Regions from separate parts of the Homo sapiens genome. Here region 1 is linked to region 2. Evidence: promoter capture Hi-C in 16 types of primary human blood cells and fetal thymus (Javierre and others, 2016). All regions are on one chromosome and are shown on one strand. Each heading gives the region's core, a stretch centred on a gene start or on the middle of the fragment in contact. The rest is flanking DNA. Distances are from core to core; before and after follow the strand shown. Region 1 has its middle 3.5 kb from the start of PCNP. Region 2 holds the start of NXPE3 (neurexophilin and PC-esterase domain family member 3).

The links. Contacts are between HindIII fragments. The CHiCAGO score rates a contact against its expected background, and 5 or more counts as called.
Region 1: a contact is called between a fragment that was not itself captured here and the fragment with the promoter of NXPE3 in region 2, in 7 of 17 cell types (total CD8 T cells, naive CD8 T cells, non-activated CD4 T cells and 4 more). The highest score is 7.1, in total CD8 T cells.

What each region holds. Positions count from the first base shown.
Region 1 is chr3:101,568,510-101,572,776 of GRCh38, forward strand. No RefSeq gene overlaps it. Among named protein-coding and RNA genes, the nearest start is that of PCNP, 3.5 kb to the right of the region's middle. The HindIII fragment of the contact is 1,391 bases long and covers 2,204-3,594 here.
Region 2 is chr3:101,777,296-101,781,094 of GRCh38, forward strand. It overlaps NXPE3 (neurexophilin and PC-esterase domain family member 3), which reads left to right and starts at 1,916. Exons shown (of 8, transcript NM_145037.4): 1 at 1,916-2,029. RefSeq lists enhancers at 1,730-2,024, 2,589-2,638 and a silencer at 1,829-2,178. The HindIII fragment of the contact is 3,350 bases long and covers 6-3,355 here.

The DNA of each region.
Region 1 (4,267 bases), core at 1,649-4,148, 210 kb before region 2:
ACATTTAGAGGTGTGAGAGATGAGAAGAACCCAGCAAGTAAGACTGAGGTAGAGCAACCAGTAAGAAAAGAGAGAAAATGTCCTGGAGGCAAAATGAAAAAAAGTGTTTCATGCTGCAGATCAGGTAAGATGAAGTCTGAGAGCTGACCACTGAATGTAGGAATGAGGACATTGCTGATTATCTTGACAACAGCAATTTCAATAGAGGATTGAAAAGAAAGCCAACTGGAGTAGGTTTAAAAGAGAATGGACAAGGCCGGGTGTGGTGGCTCAGGCCTGTAATCCCAGCACTTTGGGAGGCCGAGGCAGGCAGATCACCTGAGGTCGGAAGTTCGAGACTACCCTGACGAACATGGAGAAACACCATCTCTACTAAAAATACAAAAAAAATTAGCCGGGCATGGTGGTGCATGTCTGTAATCCCAGCTACTTGGGAGGCTGAGGCAGGAGAATCGCTTGAACCCTGGAGGTGGAGGTTGCGGTGAGCCGAGATCACACCATTGCACTCCAGCCTAGGCAATAAGAGCAAAACTCCTCAAAAAAAAAAAAAAAAAAAAGGAAATGGACAGGCGGAGCACGGTGGCTCAAAGGTCAGGAGTTTGAGACCAGCCTGGCCAACATGGTGAAACCCCAGCTCTACTAAAAATACAAAAATTAAAATTAGCCAGGTGTTGTGGCACAGGCCTGTAATCCCAGCTACTCAGGAGACTGAGACAGAAGAACTGCTTGAAGCCAGGAGGCGGGGGTTGCAGTGAGCCGAGACTGTGCCACTATACTCCAGCCTGAGTGACAGAGCAAGACTCCGTCTCAAAAAAAACAAAAACGAAAAGAAGGGACGGGACTAGGTGTGGTGGCTCATACCTGTACTCCCAGTACTTTGGGAGGCCAAGGCAGGTGGATCCCTTGAGTCCAGGAGTTTGAGACCAGCCTGGGCAACATTGTGAAACCCTGTCTCTACAAAACTTAGCCAGGGATGGTGGTGTTCACCTTTAGTCCCAGCTACTTGGCGGGCTAAGCCAGGAGGATCGTTTGAGCGTGTGATGTGGAGGTTGCAGTGAGCCAAGATCATGTCATTGCATTCCAGGTTGGGTAACAGAGCAAGACCCTGTCTCAAAAGATAAAAAAAAGAATGGACAGAGATATAGGAGACAGAGTATGAACAATCTTTTCAAAGTTTCTATATGAAGGAAAATAGGAATGAGGAGCTACAGGAAGATATGAGATCAAGAGAAGAGTCTTTTACTAAGATAGGAGACATAAAAGCATGTATGTATGATGTTGGGAATGTTTCAATAGTAGAAAGAAAAATCGGATGGAACAATAGTGATGTGTGTAAACAAGGACAGGCTCCACTTCATAAGTAACAGAACACATAGTATATAGGTATAAATGCAGGTACCACACCTCAGATATGGTTGAGAATATATAGAAGTTCTGTTTGATTACTATTATTTTCTCACTGAAAATAAAAAGCAAAATCATCCCAAGTGGGAGGACGTAATGGACATTTTTGGAGAGCCAACAAAACATGAAATAGTATAGGAAAGTGAGTGAATTAGGGCAGTGGTTCTCAAAGTGTGGTTCCCCAACGAGCAGCATCAGCATTACTTGGGAACTAGTTAGAAATGCAAATTTTAGGGCTCCAGCCATTGAGTCAACTGAATCAGAAACTGGCAATGGGGCCCAGCAATCTGTTTTAACATGTCCTTCAGGTGATTCTGATGTACACTGAAATTGAGAATAGTCTGAGGACATGTAATAGAATTATAAGGCTACATTAAGAACCTACTTAATGGCTCATGCCTGTAATCCGAGAATTTTGGGAGGCTAAGGCAGGAGGATCACTTCAGCCCAGGAGTTCAAGGCTGCAGTGAGCTATGAGCCACTGTACTCTAACCTGGGCAACAGAACGAGATCCTGTCTCAAAACAAAAACAAAAACAAAACAAAAAAAAGAACCTACTTAAGGTTAGTGAAATCAAGATTAGCCACTTTTCTTCTCCACTCTAATTTTTTTTTTTTTTTTTTTGGTAGCTCTTGGCCTGAATTTCAAGTTCAGCTCCACTTCTTACTTATCTTTTCCGTGCCCAAATTCCCTCTTCCATAAAAATGGGAGTAACAGTAGCACTTAATTCACAGGGTTGTAATGATTTAATGTACTGAATTTCATGTAGAATACCTGCAACAATGCTTGGTGTATAGTAAGCTTGAATAAATGTTAGATATTATAGTTGTCGCCTCACAAATTACACATCTAAATTAAAATAATAATTGCTCATATTACCTTCCATTTCCAGCCTTTTAAACCACTTAAATAGCTCACTAGAGGTTATAATCCATAGCTACTATGAAGCAAGCTCTCACCATGGCCAGGCAGCATATTATAGATTTAACCTTTATTATCCCAATGCCCTCAGTAACCCTATATGTATTATTCCATTTGTATAGTTATAACATATTCCATAACATTGTTATCCAGTACAAACTCACAGAATTAGCAAAATGCAGAATTAGAATTTAAGTCGAGTTTTTGTGTGGTGCAAAACTAATGCTCTTTGCCTTGGACTACATTGCCTATTCATTGTCAGAAAACGGTACCCCAAAATTTGGTGCTTTGACATGCTGAACTAGAGAAGCAGCCGCAAGGTTTCTCTGATCTCCCCACCCCACCTCCTGCCTCTCAATCCTCTGCCTCCCCCAAAACACGGGATAAGACTGTTCTTTGAAGTTTCTTATCTACCTAGAAACCACACACATCAAAGAACACAATTGCTTTCTATCTGCTTCCTCCCTGAAATTTCATTAACCAGAAGAAATTAAAACATATCACAAAGCCAGATACAGTGGTGCACACATGTAGTCCCAGCTACCTGTGAGTCTCAGATGGGAGGATTCTTGAGGCCAGGAGTTTGAGGCTGTAGTGTGCTATCATCATGCCTGTGAATAGCCACCACACTCCAGCCTGGGCAACACAGTGCGACCTGGTCTCATAAAAAAACAAAACTCACATCATAGAGGAAGAGACTGAAAATTAACCACCACACTTAGAGCCCAAACTTTGCCTCAAACTACTGTTTTTTGTTTTTGAGACAGGGTCTCACTCTGTCACCCAGGTTGGAGTGCAGTGGCGAGATCTTGGCTCACTGCAACCTTGCCTCCGGGGCTCAAGTGATCCTTCTATCTCAGCCTCCCTAGTAGCTGGGATTATGGGAGTGAGTCACCACGACTGGCCTTCGAATTATTATTGGTTCTCTAGTTTCACTTGGTTTACAAAGAGAATAATTTACAAGTGAATTTCTGCATTAATCTCTCCTAAAATCATTTACTACTCCTCTAAAATTGCCTGTAGCCCCCCCACCTCTCTCTCCCCTATGAAAAGTATTAAACTTCAACCATCTGACCCTTTTTTTAGTTTTCTTATTTTGTTGTATCATTCCCATGCTTATGCACATTAATTTTCTCTTGTTAACCTGTCTTTTATTAACAAGCATGTTGTCATGACTCTTTTGATGGGGAGGAAAGTGATCACCCCCTTTCCACCCCTTCATACTACACTACCTTTCCATTTCCTAACCCGTTTGTAGGAGGTTACTGAAGCTTGCATTAATTTCTTCAATAGATATTTATCCAGACTAGTATAATCCAGGTGCTGGGGAAACAGTGGTGAACAAGACAGGCACACCTCATGAAACTCACAGAACTGAAAGGTGAATGGATTACTATCTTCATCCTTTTTTTGTTTCGTTTTTTTCCTTTCATACCTAGTCCTGCACATGCATCCTTAACTTCTGCAGTGTGGTATATGGGAACTGGATCCGCTCCTAAATAGGTATGTGACTTCTCTGAGCTTTATCTTCTTCACTTAAAAATTACAAGCATCGGCCGGGCACGGTGGCTCACGCCTGTAATCCCAGCACTTAGGGAGGCTAAGGTGGGCGGATCACAAAGTCAGGAGTTCGAGACCAGCCTGGCCAACATAGTGAAACCCCGTCTCTACTAAAAATACAAACATTAGCCGGGTGTGGTGGCACGCGCCTGTTGTCCCAGCTACTCGAGAGGCTGAGGCAGGAGAATCGCTTGAACCCAGGAGGCGGAGGTTGCAGTGAGCCAAGACCATGCCATTGCACTCCAGCCTGGGTGACAGAATGAGAGACTCCATTCCACCCCCCATAAAAAATTACAAGCATCTGTAAATACATAATCTCAAATAAAAATCTTCGTGTATATCTCCATTTTTAAAATGATAGAAACGAGAGTCTCAATGATTA
Region 2 (3,799 bases), core at 666-3,165:
CCTCAAGCTTCTGCCATCAGGGACAGGTTTATTTGCTTTTATTTGTCTACTCTTAAGATCTATGCTTTGTTTTGCTTAGAGAATCAAGTTTAGCATTAATAAACACTAGTGTGTAAACTACATTTTCAGATGGGGCAGAAATGACCAGTTCCTTTGGTTTCATATCATCATATAAACATTTTTTTATTTTTTGAGACAGGGCCTCACTCTGTCACCCAGGCTGGAGTGCAGTGGCTGCTCTTATTTGTGGTTATGACTGTAAAATATAGGTAAATATAGGTAAGATCACTCAAATGCCTCAGGGTTATGAGTGCTTGGGGGAGAATGGGGTCAATGAGGTCCAAAACCATGACCTAGAAGTCATCTTGTCCTAAGTATTTTACCACTTGTAAGACAGCCAAGCTGTACATGAGGCGGGGGATCCTACTGGGAGATAAAGCATAATCAGAGCAGAAGTCTAGTATATGAGGCTCTTCTTCGATAGCAGAAGGAAGCTACCCTTTTATGTCCTCAAAAGGTCCCAGAGTGCTGTATTTCCTCGAGGAAGAAGGAGTATCAGATCATTACTACAATGGTTGAACTAGTTTACAGTCCCACCAACAGTGTAAACGTGTTCCTACTTCTCCACATCCTCTCCACCACCTGTTGTTTCCTGACTTTTTAATGATCGCCATTCTAACTGGTGTGAGATGGTATCTCATTGTGGTTTTGATTTGCATTTCTCTGATGGCCAGTGCTGATGAGCATTTTTTCATGTGTTTGTTGGCTGCATAAATGAACACTTGGACACAGGAAGGGGAACATCACACACCTGGGCATGTTGTGGGGTAGGGGGAGGGGGGAGGGATAGCATTAGGAGATATACTTAATGTAAATGACGAGTTAATGGGTGCAGCATACCAACATGGCACATGTATACATATGTAACAAACCTGCACGTTGTGCACATGTACCCTAGAACTTAAAGTATATTAAAAAAAAAAAAAAGAAGATCATTACTACAGAAGAGATCTTCCACCCTGTGGCAGAACTTCCTTTTATCCCATTCACGGATCTGGTTGCCCACGAAGCAGGCCTGCCATGAAAACATCTGAATGAGCATGCAGAGTCCATTATGGTCAAGAAATGGAAAAATACTTAGTTGTCATGTACATTAATTATTTTTCTTAAACCTTGGGGTAATAGTCCGGGGGCAGGCCTGCTTTTGGGGCCTGTGTTAACCCCACTGTGCTCCAAGCACAGAGAAACACGGTGCAGCCCACAATTCCTTCTGGTTTCTTGAACAAGTGTCTTCTCAGGACTCCTCTCAGTTCCTGAATTTCACAAAACTGCTACCGACGTTTTACCAGTTAGAAAAATGTCCAAAATAGGATAACCCAGAATTGGGGATGGTGGAGGGTGAGGAAAGTATGCTTTGCCAAGAGACCGACATCATGTACAGTGAGAGTAAAAGGAACGGGCTGTTTTACTGGCGAGTAGAAGTTGTTGACTAATGTCAAAGCAAGGAAAAGATTCAAGGATCCGCTATATCCGTGCTTATACTTGGCAAATCGCATTTCTCTGGTTCAGGGCACAATAAATTCCATCACTCCACAGGAAAGACTGCCCTACTAGAGTCAACTGCGGTTGTGGGCACTTTCGCTGACAAGCGAAAAGCCTTGAGGTAGGTGGATGCTCCCAGGAAACTCAGACGTCCGAAGTTCACGAGGAGTTGGGTCGTGAGAGGGGCCAGACCTCGATCCGCGGGGCGACAGCTGCAGTGTCGCGTCGCGAGCAGGAGCTTGGCGGCGTAGAGCGCCAGGGTGCCAACTTCGCTTCCAGGCCTGTGGGTTCCGCCCGGCGCGTGCTGCTGTCAGTCAACGCCCTCGGCCCGCCCCCGCCGAAGCTCCACCAATCGTAGCCGGGGGTCGGAGGTGAGGAGACGTCGCCGGGTGAGGAAGCGGGGGGCTAGCGGCCTGGCGCTGCGGCGACCGACCGGGGCGTCAGGATCCCTGGCCCCCGGAGAGCGAAGGGCGGGCGGGTCCCGGAGGTGAGTGCTGGATGTGGTCTGTGTGCGGACGTCGGGAGGGGCCGCTGCGGGCGGAGCGACCCATTGCCCGGCTCTGCCAGCGCGCTCCTAGACTGCGAAGCCCCTCCCTCCGCGCGCATCTGCTCCCGAGTCCCCAGCCCCGTGCTGATAGGTGCAGCCCCTGGAGTCGTGGCTGTGGGCATAGGTGCCAGGGAGGGGAGGCCCGGGTCGAAGGCATAGGCAGAATTGGAGCCCTGGGTTGCCAAAGCGTCGCAGCTAAGAAGCCGGAGCCCAGGCTAGTACCGGCGGGGCGGGGCGGGGCGGGGCCGGGAGCGAGCATCTCCATCCTCAGTTTCCTCCACTTGCGGCAACGCCACAGCTCGGTACAGTTCGGACCTCCACGCCGCAGCGAAAGACTTCTGTCCTCCAGGCACCTTCACTAACCCGGTGCGGAGCACTTGGCGACGCCTCCCTGCCCATCTCATATCTCTCGGCTCATCGCTGCTCTGGGCACCAGCTGCCTCTTGGCTGGCGCTGCTGTCACACGGTGGACTGTTCTGGCCTTACTGAGCTGCCGTTTGGGGACATCAGATTCAGGTCGTATGGGGAGAAACGAGTGTAACTTTACAAGGTGTGATATGGAGACCCTGGCCTGTTGCCCATTTCTGCCTGATCAAAGGCCACTAGGGTGGTAATAAGAGGGGTTCCGAGGCAGGATTTATGCAGCATTTGTGCAAAATTGTAAATTTTCTTTGCTTTTCATTATTTACATTAAAGGGGGATTGTTGCCACATTTCCTAAAGATAAAGAATCACACTGCTTTGGTGGGCCTCCCCGCTCCTCACTGTGGTTAATTATCATTTGGAACATCAGGATATATTTGAAACTGGCAGGACTCCCAGACCCTGATAATTGTTTGGAGGCAGCAGTATACTATTTCTCCGTAGTGTTTGGGTTCTGCTTTTCTTTGAATTTGTTTAGTATTTTTTTTTCCATGTCTGTTATCCTCACAATCTCTTTGGGGCCAATAGAGTGCTGTTATTTGTTACTGAGAAAGGAAACGAAGGGATAAATCACTGAAGTGGGGTTAGCCTTCCCCATTGCCTGGGAATTGGGTTGTCCTGACCTGACAATTTAAGTTACAATTCAAACATCATTTTGGAAAGGCCATCCTTTTACCAACTGAAACGAATAACAGTCCCTGGCCACTCTATACTAGTGGTTCTCCCACTTGGCTGTATGTTGTAATCATCTAGGGACCTTTTTAAAAAAAGCTACTTCTTGGGCCTATTCCTACAGATTCTGATTTAATTGTTTGAGTGGGGCCCAGTTGTTTGTATTTTAAAAAGCTTCCACGATGATTATTAATGTTCATGCAGGGTTGAGGACCACAACCTATCAATGTGTTCAATATTTAAAAAATAGCACTTAGTACAGTGTGACTTATATAACTGATTTTATTACTTCTCCACTTGCTATGTAACCTCCATGAATACATGGGGCCCTGCTTTGGAAGAAGGGCAAGGGAAGGTCCAGATGAGTCAGCACTTTGTGCATGTGAGGCTGCGGGACACGAAGGAGAAATGGAATCTGTGGAAACAAGTCCTGCAGACTACTGCCCCTGCTTCATCTTTTTTCAAGGATTGACCCTATTTGGTTAACCCATCATTGTTAGGGTCCTGGATGGGTCTCCAGTTCTTCATTCTGTAGATCCTGCCCTGTTTCAAGGTCTTACTCAGCATCCTATGAAATACAGCTACTCTTTGCAAAGTTTGAAATATATGCATTTAA